3 separate regions of the Homo sapiens genome follow, and regions 1 and 2 are each linked to region 3. The links are contacts of gene promoters, found by promoter capture Hi-C in blood cells and fetal thymus (Javierre and others, 2016). All regions are on one chromosome and are shown on one strand. The core of a region is centred on a gene start or on the middle of the fragment in contact, and the rest is flanking DNA. Distances in the headings are between cores, read along the strand shown. Region 1 overlaps AZIN2 (antizyme inhibitor 2). Region 2 holds the start of RNF19B (ring finger protein 19B). Region 3 holds the start of PHC2 (polyhomeotic homolog 2).

Region 1 (4,227 bases), core at 397-2,896, 320 kb before region 3:
CCAGGCTGGAGTGCAGTGGCGCAATCTCGGCTCACTGCAAGCTCCACCTTCCGGGTTCACGCCATTCTCCTGCCTCAGCCTCCCAAGTAGCTGGGACTACAGGCGCCCGCCACCATGCCCGGCTAATTTTTTGTATTTTTAGTAGAGACGGGGTTTCACCGTGTTAGCCAGGATGGTCTCGATTTCCTGACCTCGTGATCCACCCACCTCAGCCTCCCAAAGTGCTGAGATTACAGGCATGAGCCACCGCGACCCGCCTTTTTTTTTTTTTTTTTTTTTGAGATGGAGTTTTGCTCTTGTCACCCAGGCTGGAGTGCAATGGCTGGATCTTGGCTCACTGCAACCTCTGCCTCCTAGGTTCAAGCGATTCTTCTGCCTCAGCCTCCTGAGTAGCTGGGATTACACGCCCAGCTAATTTTTGTATTTTTAGTAGCGACAGGGTTTTGCCATGTTGGCCAGGCTGGCCTCAAACTCCTGACCTCAAGTGATGCGCCCGTGTCCGCCTCCTAAAGTGCTGGGATTACAGGCGTGAGCCACCGCGCCCAGCCTATTGATTTATTCTTTAAAAGTTGAAGAATTATTTAGGGATTCCATCAAGGCCGTGCACCTTTTTCAATGTTTGACCTTGTTTTTTCTGTGGCTCTGTCAGACATATGTGCCTTTGAAGAAGGCAGCTAGGTGCAGCCAGGAGGCTCCTTGTCTGGGACTGCCCAGAGTTCTACTAACTCCCCCTAGAGCCTTGGGCAGGTCACCTTCCCTCTCTGAGTTTTCTCATCTGTAAAATGGGAATGCAATCATGCCACCTGCCTCCCAGATAAGGTATGAAGTGGTGGTGGTATGCTTTGTAAATGAGGAACCCCCTGCCCTCTCTCACAGAGGGGCCTAGTGGCTGGCAGACTGGGCATCTTGGATTTTTGCAGATGCTTGTCCATTTCCACTCAGACTTGTAAAAATAGCTGAGATTTACAAGCTTGTTGCCACAGCTTTTAGAATATTTATTTCACAGATTCCTTAAAAAAAAAAAAATAGGCTGGGTGCAGTGGCTCACACCTGCAATCTCAGTACTTTGGAAGGCCGAGGTGGCGGATCACCTGAGGTCAGGAGTTTGAGACCAGCCTGGCCAACATGGCAAAATCCTGTATCTACTAAAACTACAAAAATTAGCCAGGTGTGGTGGCCGGCACCTGTAATCTCAGCTACTCGGGAGGCTGAGACAGGAGAATCGCTGAACCCAGGAGGCAGAGGTTGCAGTGGGCTGAGATCACACCACTACACTCCAGCCTCGATGACAGAGTGAGACTCTGTCTCAAAAAAAAGTTAAATAGATACATAAATAGTAAAAGCGTAGCTTTGCATTATGTCATGTGAAGATTTAAAATCTTTTTTCACCTAATTTTTTAAAATTTACACCACTAATAACAAGTGAGGGAATGCTAACTTCTTATAATCCAAGGGTGCCTTTTCTCTTTACCATGGAAGAATCTTTAAAATTTATTTTCCCAAAGATCCTTGTAGATTCATTTATAGAGCATCCCCTCCACTCATCTTTAAACATTAGCTTAATGTTTTTCAATGAGTGGGGCTAAGGGAAATAATTCAGACCACTTGAGGTTAATTTTATTCATCAACAAAAAGTTTATAAACAAGAATGTTCAGTTATATGAACAAGGATATACAGTATTCCTTTGTCTCCCCTTCTTAGAATGGGAGCTTCATGACCACAGGAATTTTATTTTGTGTGTGTGTTTACTGCTGCATCTCCAGCTCCTAGATCACAGCCTGGCAATTAGTAGGTGCTCAATAAGTACTTGTTGAATGAATGAATTCCTGAAGATTGGATAGCTATCATTCTTAACTTACATAATGTACATATTTTTCTTTATTAATGGGACTAATAGCTTATTAACTTTTTATCAAATATATGAGCACTATTTCTGCTTATGGAAACTGCGACTTTTCTTTCTCAATTTTACTCATTCCTGCTCTGGCTAAGGTATTGAAACGCCTTTCCTTTTTTCTCTGCTGGTCTTCTCTGTTGCTTCCATCTATGCCCTTTGGATGGCTTCCATTCATATCCTTTTTCTCCCCTTTGTCATTCTTTCTCTTTCTCATCACTCATATATTCCCCATTCTTTAATTCATTTATTTAAAAATATTATTTGAATAAGCACCTAATGGATGCCAGCCTGCTAGGCATTGAGGAGATGGGGATGACAAGACCTACACATCCCCTGGGCTCATGGAATTTATAGTCTTCAGGGAAGACAGGCCTGAGCAGATATTTCACAAATATTTATGAATTATGGTAAATACTACGAAAGCAAAGCTTGAGGGAGCATGGAGCTTTAGGAAAGGCTTCCCTGAAGCCATTTTAGCTGAGATCTAAAGGAGAAATAGGAATTTGCAAATTTGGGGCCTCAGGGAATAGCATGGGGGAAAGTAGGAGGTATGGGAAGGGAAGTAGGGTTTACCTGGGGAGCCCAGAGCAACTGGAGTAACTGGAGCACAGCAAGTGCAGTGATGGGAGAAGAGGCCTCTCAGAGGGCACAGTCATCATCATCCACATTTCAGTGGTGACTCTAGGATCTGCCTGGCAAGATCCCTGCCTACACTGTGGCAAATGGCACTGATAACTTGGTTGTCCAGAGTCTGTTACAAATTTCTGGATTTGGAAATCATTTAAGAAAAAATCTTAAATTTTATGTCATTGGTAGTTGTGTCTTTGGGCAAGTCATTTAAGCTGTCAGAGCCTCCATTTTTCTGAAATGGGAGTAATTGTGTCTACTCTGTGGGGTCCTCTGTGACCTCTGCCAGGTCCCCCTGTGATTGTTGTTGGAAGTCCATCTTTCTCATTAGACTGAGGGCCTGAGGGAGGGTGAGTCTAGCCTGGTATACTGCTGGCTCCTGTTGTGGGGCCTGGCATGGAGTGAGGACATCTGGGAGGGCTTCATAGACGAGGGAGCCCCAGGGCTGGGCTCAGAAGACAGGCTAGATTTGAGGGTCGGGGAAGGGCTGTAGAGGTGTGGACATATCGACGTCTGGAAAGAGGCCAGTGAAGACCAAAGTGCAGAGGTGGTAACAACAGCAATCACAACAATAAGTTACAATTGTGCTGACTTTCTGTGCACCCTCGCCGTGTGCCGCCACTGTTCTACATGCTCTCCATACACTAACTCATTTATCCTTGCAGTAACCTTACGAGGTAGGTACTGTTGTTATCCCCATTTTACAAATGAGCAAACTGAGACATGGAGAGATTAAGCATTTTGCCCAAGGTCACACAGCTAACAACTGCTGGAACCTGGATTTAAGGCCAGGCATTCGTGACTTCAGAGTGTAAGAGGCAACGAATGCAGAGAAGTGGGAAGGGCCTTAAATGCTAAGCTAGGAGGCCCATCTAGACTTTATCCTGTTGGCTATGGGAGCCATAGAAGGCTTTTGAGGGAGGGAGTGGCAAGGCTGTTGTATGCCCAGGAGAGCTGGCATGGCCATCCCTTCTTCCTACAGAAACCATCCACGGAGCAGCCCCTGTACAGCAGCAGCCTGTGGGGCCCGGCGGTTGATGGCTGTGATTGCGTGGCTGAGGGCCTGTGGCTGCCGCAACTACACGTAGGGGACTGGCTGGTCTTTGACAACATGGGCGCCTACACTGTGGGCATGGGTTCCCCCTTTTGGGGGACCCAGGCCTGCCACATCACCTATGCCATGTCCCGGGTGGCCTGGTAAGAGGGCCCTGCTGGAAAATGGGGGTATGGGGAGGAACTGGGCAGAAACGAGGGAAACTTGAGATTTGAGATTCTGCTTCTGTGTAATCCAACTTGACAAGTAGCTGTTGGCTGCTGGTCCCACGTGAGGGATGTGCTTGGCACCTGGCTGTGGCCATAAGTGAGGCTGGGCTTTCCTAGAGGAGCTCACAGCCCTGAGGGAGGCACAGAGAAGCAGACAGGCCCTTGTGATAATACTGTGCCTGGTGGAAGTGCAGAGCCCTCCCTGAGGCCCAGGCCTCCCTGAGGAAGTGGGAGTCAACTACAGGAGTGGGTGGTAGGACTTCCCAGAAGAAAGGAACGGAGAGCAAGTGTGGTGCATTCAAGGCTCGCATGGAGAGTGGCTGTGACTGCAGAGGGAGGCAGGGCTAGATCTGGGAAGGGCTTGAAGGCCGAGTGACACGCTTTGACAGCAGTGGGAGGCATGGACCAGTTTGAAGCAGGGGCATAACACAGTCTGATT
Region 2 (4,283 bases), core at 1,157-3,656, 470 kb before region 3:
ATACTTATTAACTGAAAGTGAAAGTGAGCCACCATAAACACCATTCCTTTGACCACAACACTTCAAAGTAATTTAGAAACCCCATCTCAGTGAGGTTAAATAGCACACCCATTTCTAAACAAGTTTGGCAGAATTAAAAACAGAAGTTAACTCTTCTTACTCTCCTAGACACTCTAAGACAGCTCCTTTTGAAAGGAGACAACCAGCAGCATCATGGAGATTTCAAAACCACCTTGATATATAGGCTACAATTAAAAGTCCTTAACTCCTTTGAAGCTAAAGATCACACAACTTTTTACTAGCATTACGTTTACACACTGCAAGGACTCCCCAGCATCTTTTTGTCGCCAAAACATGACACACAAGAATAAAATTATCTGCCCAAGGTCACAGAACAGGTAATGGCTGTCTGACTCCCAACTACTTAAATGAGCCCCTCTTCCTGCGTGCAACCCCTTCATGGGATATACTGACAGTAACAATTAGACTTCTAAAGGCGGGGAGGGCGAGGAAGGTCTCCACTGAATGCTTCAGATAGCAAAATCTGGTGTATTATGTCTCTGCAGATATTGCATATTTTAATTTACTGCCCTTTAAAATTCAGCCTACATGGTGCATTAAAAAGACTGTCATCAAGAACTCAAGATCAAAGGGGTTCAGAAACACAATTTCTCCTATCACACCAACCTCTGGGCATTCTTCTCAGTGCCCCCATTGAGACTCTGGACAAAGAACATATCTGTCTACCCCTCACCCTACCCAAGGCAGCAAGGTAAGAACGACAGAGTGCCTCCCGATAGCGTGGCACAGAACACATAGTGCTCAGGGTACCCGAGAGCCTATTCCCCAGTCACCTCCATCCCAACTTTCAGCGGTGGTTGTCAGGGAGAACACGCCTTCTTCTGCAATGCTAAGTCTGTCCCTAGCCAAGTGGACACACCCCTCCGACGCGCTGCCCCCTCAGAATATTCTCATTCCCTCCTTGGCCAAATATCCCCTCCCCACTCTCATTAAGAGATACTCCCCACCTTGGCCGGGAGCGGTGGCTCACGCCTGTAATCCCAGCACTTTGGGAGGCCGAGGCAGGAGGATCACCTGAGGTCAGGAGTTCGAGACCAGCCTAGCCAACATGGTGAAACCCCATCTCTACTAAAAATACAAAGAAATTAGCCGGGTGTGGTGGCGGGCGCCTGTAATCCCAGCTACTCGGGAGGCTGAGGCAGGAGAATCGCTTGAACCTGAGAGGCGGAGGTTGCAGTGAGCCGAGATCGCGCCATTGCACTCCAGCCTGGGCGGCAGGGCGAGACTCCGTCTCCAAAAAAAAAAAGAAAAAAAAAAAAAGATACTGTCCTCACCTCCGGACAGAGGGCATTCCCCCAACAAAAAAACCGCCTCTCCCTGTCTCCTAACTTGGACAGCTCCCTTCCCCTCACCGAATGCTTAGCAGCCACCTCGAGCCCTGGGGCAGGGGGCGGGGTGTCGGGTGCGTTCACACCACTAGTCTGGGCTTGCCTGATGGTTACCACCCCGCCGAAGCTGCCGCCTTGCGGGTTTCCCTGCTTGGGACACCCACGCGGGGTCCCTGCTGCCCCCAGCCACGCCCCTCGGCTGCAGCCCGCCGCCACCCGCGCCACGCCCCCGCGCTCACCCGCAGTCCGGGGCCGGGCACCAGCGGCAGTCGGGGTCCGAGGCTAGGTAGCGGCGCAGCATGAACTCCTCGTACTTGTGCATAAGCGGCGGGTCGGCGAGCAGCAAGCGGATGTCGTGCGGGTTGAGTCGCTCGCTGCACTCGGGGCAGCTGATGGGCACCCTGCTCTCGCTTATCTCCAGGCGCAGGTAGTGGCGGAGGCAGTCCCGGCACGAGCGGTGCGGACAGCTGAGGAGGCGCGGGGCCCGCTCAGGCGGCAGCCGCACCAGGCACAGCGGACACTCCACCTCCTCCGCGCCCGGGCCACCGCCCTCCGCCGCCTCCTCATCGTCGAACCCAGGCTCCGCCGCCGCCGCCGCGGCCTCCGCCTCGGCCTCGGCGGCCGGCTCGGCGGGCAGCGCCTCGGGCGGCGGGCCCTGGGCCGCGGCAGGGGCCGGGGCGGGCGGCGGCTGCGCAGCCGGGGGCGGCGGCTCGGCCTGCGGCTTGGCCCGGGCGCGGCGGCCGCGGGCCGAGGCAGAGAAGACGCTGTGCAAGGTGAGGCGCCGGCGCCGGCCGCCGCTGCGGCACTTAGGGTCGGGTGCGGCCGCATGTAGCGATGTGGAGCGCGGCGACTCGGAGTCCTTCTCGGAGCCCATGGCCGGCAGAGGCCGAGGAGCCAGGGGCGCCCAGCGCCGCCACAGCTCCCGCCTCAGCGCCCCTCAGCCAGCGCCCGGCCGCCGCCGACGCCGCCACCACCGCCTCAACCGCCCTCCCGGCGATAGAAGCCGAGCGGCAACGACGAAGTGATTATAAAGCCTCCGCCCCGCGCGCCGCTGCCCTGCGCAGGCGCTTCGCTCAAACACCTCACAACCCTTGCGCCCCGGTCTAGGAGTGCGCTGGGCAGGGCCGAGCGGGGTGGGGCCGAGCGAGCTGGGGCGGAGCTCCGCCTCCTGCCGGTCAGGTGGTTCCAGGGCCGCCATGTTGCGGAGACTCTCAGAGATCCTAGCCCGCTGCTCTCCCTGGTCTCCGCCTCCAATTCCATCACCATGACACCCAAGGTGGACTTTTTGGTTTGCCGTTCCTCACAGGTTGATTGCCACTTCCAGTAAATGATGGTTCAGTTACATTATTTATAAAAAGCAGGCAGGGGTTGATCAGATGGTGACTCCCAACTGGTTCACCTTCCAACATTTCTGTTTATTAAGCAGACGGCATAAATTAATAAAGAATATATTCATTCACTGAGCTTCTACAAAGTGCGAGGCATTAGAAAATAAAACAGACAAGGTCCCCTATTGCAAGGGACTTCCAGAATAAAGTCCAAATTTCTTAGTCTAGCATTCAGTGTTCTCTATGTATTTAATAAACCCTATGTATATAATAGTCTATTTCTAGGCTCACTTACCATTCTATCCTCCTGGTATCTTGCTTACTTACCAAACTTGTGGAAGGAGACCCAGCGTTTTCTTGCCTGGCAGTGCCTTTGCCTTTCTTTTTCTAGTTCCCCATTCCTCTGACTGGGGGAGGATCTGGACCCTTAGGCTTCCTAGTGGGAGGCAGGCAAACAGCTTCAACAACAGGAATGTATCAGGATTACATTCAATTGCAAATAACAAAAGAAAAAAATAGCTTACGATTGAAATTTATTTATTTTTTTTCCTGAGACGGTTTTGCTCTGTCACCCAGGTTGGAGTGCAGTGGCGTGATCACAGCTCACTGAAGCCTCAACCTCCCAAGCTTAAGCGATCCTCCCACCCCAACCTCTGGAGTAGCTGGGAGCACAGGTGCGCCACCAGGCCTGCCTATTATTTTTATTTTTTTCATGGAGATGAAATCTCCCTGTGTTGCTCAGGCTGGTCTCGAGCTCCTGGGCTCAAGCGATCCTCCTGCCTTGGCCTCTCAAAGTGCTGGGATTACAGGCATGAGCCGCTGCACCTAGCCAGAAATTTCTCTCTTTCCATGAAATATAAGTCCAAAAGTAGGCAGTTCAGGGCTGTTCAGCCATCCTCAGTATTTGGCTTCCAGTGTTAAGGTCACCTCACTATGGTCCATATTCCAAACAGTGGGAAGGAAAAAGGGAAGAAAGATGCATCCTCTTCCTTTTAAGAAGACTGCCTTGGGGCTGGGCGCGGAGGCTCACGCCTGTAATCCCAGCACTTTGGGAGGCCCAGGCTGGCGGATCACGAGGTCAGGAGATGGAGACCATCCTGGCTAACACAGTGAAATCCCGTCTCTACTAAAAATATAAAAAATTAGCCGGGCGTGGTGGCGGGCGCCTGTAATCCCAGCAACTCGAGAGGCTGAGGCAGGAGAATGGCGTGAACCCAGGAGGCGGAGGTTGCAGTGAGCCGAGATCGCGCCGCTGCACTCCATCCTGGGCGACAGAGCGAGACTCTGTCTCAAAAAAAAAAAAAAAAGAAAAAGAAAAAGAAAGAAAGAAAAAAGGACTGCCTCGAAAGTCCCGCACATTTTTGCCAAAACATACTCACTCACATGGCCATACTCAGCTGCAAGGGAGCCTGGGAAACATTCTCTTAACTGGGTACAATGTGCCCAGCTAACAATGAGTGCTCTGTTATTAATAAGGAATGGTAAGATGGGCCAGGAGCTGTGGCTCGCACCTGTAATTACAACACTTTGGGAGACCTAGGCTGGT
Region 3 (4,532 bases), core at 1,113-3,612:
CCAATGCATGAGACATGGGTGGAAACTGGGATGAAGAGAAGAGGATAATAGTAAGGAGGGAGGGTGAACAGAAAGGAGGAGGCATTGGAAAGCCTATGGAGGGCCTGGCCCAGTCTGGCAGATCCACCGCTGTTCTGCACAGCTGGCACCATGCAACAGTGGGCTCAGCTGCATGTGCACGATTCATGGTCTCAATCCTGGACTACTTGCCCTGACCCATCTCACACTCCAATCCTCTCTTAATCCAGATCCTTCCAGCTTCTGATCTTACTACTTATTTCCCCAGGTCTCACAAATTTGACATTCAGCATTGCTTCCCTAGTTATGGTCATGTATTCTCTTTTTGTATGATTTAGATTTGCCCCTCTCAGATGCTGCCTCTAGTGCCAAACATTATGCCCAGTTTCAGGCCCTCTCCCTTGGAGCAACTGAAAACTACTCCTATTCAACCTCCACATGATGGACCCTTACTTGGGAAGATATGGGTGACAAAGACCAGGAATGAGGCTCAGAAAAACTGATGAGGGGAAAATATGGGGGAGAAAACAATAAGAAAAATATCACTGGACAACTGTGCTGGGAATAAGAAATTCTAGGCTACTTTTAGAAAGTTACATTACAGAGGAAGGAAAAAAAGCCATAGTTACAATAGAAAGCCATTCCCTAGAGATAACATATTCTTTATGTGGCTGCATTCGCTGTTCCCCCGCTTTGGCTGCCTTTTCAGTCCTTTCCAATTTTCTCTGCAAGGTAAACTCCTATTTATCCTTCAACACCTTGCTTAAATGTGTTCTCTGGAAAGCCTTCCCTGGTCCTCTCAGACAGCTAATTGTTCCCTCCTCTGTGCTTCCAAAGCCCTTTGCATTCACATCTATTATGCTGTTAATCACTTTTACTAGCAATTTCATTTGTTTCTCCTACCACTTCTTTCAGGACAAGGACTAATTATCTTATTCATCTTTGCATCCCCAAGACATAGCAGAGTGCCTGGCATATGCCAAGTATTTGTTGTTGGGTGATAAAAGACATCAAGAGCAACGTGGAAGTGGAATTTGCACTTCACTTGCAAAATCAAATTGGTTTCTGGTACTTTTCAATTGTAACCGCATTTTCTCTTGATTTAGAAGGAACGACTTTAGACTCACAAAAGAAACTCTATTGATATCACGGGCGCATTAGCCGATTTTTCATCCCCACTGGTGATAGAAATATTTTTTACCCCACACTTCCAAGAAACTCCCAGGGCAAGCTTAGTATCAGTGGCGCATCTCTCCTCCTACCATTTCTATTGTCGCAAAAGCTAAATTACACTGTGAGCCTAAAGCTGCCACCAGTCTTAGTGAATTGGGGGAGGGGGATAATTACAAGAAGACACTTCTGTAGCAGACCTGGGGAGGGGGGAAGATGAATTTAAACCTCGCCTTATAAGAAATTTGTTAGACACTCACGTAGAACAGCCGCTTCCTCCGTGTATGACAGACCCGATCCAGGTGTCCAGCAGCGACCTTTTCCCATGGGTGTCAGGTCATCACTCAGCACAGAAAACAAGGGACCAGCGCCTTTCTAGGGCATCCCTCCTTCTCCAACCTTGGGGCCCGCTTTTCCTTTAGACGACTGTTCTCTCCTCCCAGTTCCAGCAACCCCCGGTTCCCTCTGCTGGTGCCCCCCACGCCACGCTTGACTCTGGGCCGAAAGTGCCAGCGGCTGCGCTGTCACGCCGCGGCTGGGGAGCGGGCGCCCCGGTCAGGCCCGACGCCCGGGTCTCACCGCACTCTGCGGGACAAGCGGAGCAGGCGCAGGCCGCGCAAGACCACGGGCTGCCGCGGCGCGGGCCTCTCCGCAGGAGGGGGGTCGGTCCCCGGAGAAAGCGAGTCACTGACGGGACCTTGGCCCGTTCCCGTTCCGGTTCCCGTTCCCGGCAAGCCTCGGCCCCAGGCTCTCCGCAGCCCTCCTCGCTGCGCGTTCCCGGCCCGGGGGCGCCGCGCTCTGCCGGTCGCCGGCCGGGACTGCGGGCTCCCAGCGCGGGCCCCACGCCGCGGACCAGGGGTCAGGCCGCCTGCCGCCCGCCTGTCCGTGCCCATGGCAATGCCCCGCCCCGCGCGGCCCGTCCCGGCCGAGCGCTCCGGCCCGACCGTGACAGCTGGGTGCCCAAAGGGTTAAGCCGGCAGCGCGGCGGCCGGTGTCCCCCGCGCGCTGCCCGTCAGCCGCGAGCTGGCCCCAGCGCGCACGCGCCCGCCCGTTACCTGCGGTCGCCTCCGCGCTCCTCCTCCACCTGGCCGCTCTCTCCCGGGGGCCGCCCCTCAGCCCGCCCCCTCGGCTCGGCGCCGCGCACCCTGCTGGCTGCTCGGACGCTGCCCGCGGAGGAGGGGCGAGGGCGCTATTACCATATATTAGCATACCAGCGCGCGTCACGTGGCCGCTCCAGCCAATGGTCACCCTAGAAGGGCGGGGATTGGGCGGAACACGCCTTAGTGCTGCTCCCAGCCTGAACCGGTGGCCATGGCAACGGGCGGGTGGGCGGGGGAGTGGGGAGGTGCCGGAGCCCGGTGCCCCCGGGAGCATCTCCTCTACCTGAGCGCCACATGGCGACCACGCGCAGTTTTCCCACCTTGCGGATGGAGAGATTTGTCTCAGCCAGAGAGATCCAGATTCAGCCAACATTTATTGAGCACTTACCACGTGCCTTAACACTTTGCTGCAGAAAGTGATGTCTGTCCTATTAACCCCACTAGATAGTAGGGAAAGTGGAGGCTCAGAGAGGTTAGATCATTCGCTCAAGATCATACAACAACATTAAATGGCAAAAGTGGAGATCTAAGATCATTTTTGACTTCAGACCCGGGACAATCGCCAGTTTTTTCAAATCCAGCAGGGGTCTCCTAGCACCTCCTCACAATTTCAGGTGTGCTGTGCAGTTGAGAAAATCCTTGTACATAATTTGTACAGCGTTTTACTGTTTCCTTACAGTGACCTTTGAGATTAATAGGCAGAATAGTTATGCCTGTATTACAAAGGAGAGAAAATGAGGCTCAGAGAGGCCATGTGACATAATTTAGGTCAAACAGCTATTAAGAGCTAATGCTGAGTTACACTGATTTATACTGAAGCTCATTACTTTAGAAACTTTTAAATTCAGTCTTCTCAACATGGTGGAATTACTGTGACCATTCTATGGATTAAGAAACCGAGACTTTGGGAAGTTAAGCAAATTGCCCAACGTTATACAGCTAGTAAGTAGCAGATTTAGGGTTCAAATCCAGGTTTATCTGGCCCCCAAAGCTAGTCTCATTGTATCAGATTTATTTAATTTAGGATTGGACTTAGAATCCCTTCTCTAATAGAATTTTGTCTCCTCTCAAGATATGATGGTGTTACGTCTTAATCCCACAGCAAATATACCTTGTGACAAGTGACATGTGTTAAGGTCACAGAGGCTATATATTAAGAGAATAGAGTCACCAGGTAGGTAAGGGGCACTGTAGAATTCTCTGTCTTTCCTTTGTTTTTTGTTTTTTTTTGTTTGTCTGTTTTTTGTTTTTTGTTTTTTTTGAGTCCGATCTCGCTCTTGTCACCCAGACTGGAGTGCAATGGTGCGATCTTGGCTCACTGCAACCTCTGCCTGCTGGATTCAAGCTATTCTCCTGACTCAGCCTCCTGAGTAGCTGGGATTACAGGCATCTGCCACCACACCCGGCTAATTTTTGTACTTTTAGTAGAGACAGGGTTTCGCCTTGTTGGCCAGGCTGGTCTCGAACTCCTGACCTCAGGTGATCTGCCCGCCTTGGCCTCCCAAAGTGCTGGGATTACAGGCATAAGCCACCGCGTCCGGCTTATGCCTGTCTTTCCATTTTTACCTTAGGGATTTGATAGTTTAGCTAAAGGCACAGTAGTTTAAAAACACAAACATCTGTGTACAGACTTGTTTAGCTCAGTGATTCTCTAATTTTATTTATTTATTTATTTTTTAGAGACAGAATTATGCTCTGTCATCCAGGCTGGAGTGCAGTGGTGTGATCATAGCTCACTATAACATTGAACTCCTGGGTTCAAGTGATCCTCCTGCCTCAGCCTCCCGAGGAGTAGCTGTGACTACAGGCATGCACCCCAACACCCGGGTAATTGTTATGTTGCCCAGGTTTGTCTCGAACTTCTGGCCTCAAGCAATCTTCCTACTTGGGCTTCCCAAAACTCTGGGATTCACAGGTGTAAGCTACCACATCTGGCCATGGTTCTCTAACTTTAATATATTTATGGATTACTGGACAGGGCTCTGTGCCTCAAACTAAATGTGCTAAACTTTATAGACATTTAAAGGGATCATCAAAGGTAATTTTGAATATACGTACATTTCACCTTCCTAGACTGCTTTAAAACCCAATTTCCTCCTAAAACATGACTGGTGCTTAAGAGCACAAACATAGAAGCAGACCTGCTTGGGTTAAAAATCCTGACTTGGCCACTCATTGACTGTATGACCTTGGGAAAGTTACTTAAACTCTCTGTGCCTCAATTTCCTCATTTGTAAAATAGGA

The links. Contacts are between HindIII fragments. The CHiCAGO score rates a contact against its expected background, and 5 or more counts as called.
Region 1: a contact is called between a fragment that was not itself captured here and the fragment with the promoter of PHC2 in region 3, in 1 of 17 cell types (endothelial precursors). The highest score is 6.5, in endothelial precursors.
Region 2: the fragment with the promoter of RNF19B here is called in contact with the fragment with the promoter of PHC2 in region 3 in 9 of 17 cell types (fetal thymus, naive CD4 T cells, naive B cells and 6 more); the score reaches 7.8 in fetal thymus.

The regions. Positions count from the first base shown.
Region 1 is chr1:33,114,395-33,118,621 of GRCh38, forward strand. It overlaps AZIN2 (antizyme inhibitor 2), which reads left to right. Exons shown (of 12, transcript NM_052998.4): 11 at 3,508-3,722. Among named protein-coding and RNA genes, the nearest start is that of AZIN2, 35 kb to the left of the region's middle. The HindIII fragment of the contact is 1,356 bases long and covers 969-2,324 here.
Region 2 is chr1:32,962,403-32,966,685 of GRCh38, forward strand. It overlaps RNF19B (ring finger protein 19B), which reads right to left and starts at 2,407. Exons shown (of 9, transcript NM_001300826.2): 1 at 1,649-2,407. The coding sequence starts at 2,283. RefSeq lists silencers at 1,552-1,761, 2,122-2,691 and an enhancer at 2,002-2,506. The HindIII fragment of the contact is 3,974 bases long and covers 1-3,362 here.
Region 3 is chr1:33,428,733-33,433,264 of GRCh38, forward strand. It overlaps PHC2 (polyhomeotic homolog 2), which reads right to left and starts at 2,363. Exons shown (of 15, transcript NM_001385109.1): 1 at 2,244-2,363. RefSeq lists a silencer at 2,047-2,566. The HindIII fragment of the contact is 9,079 bases long and covers 1,248-4,532 here.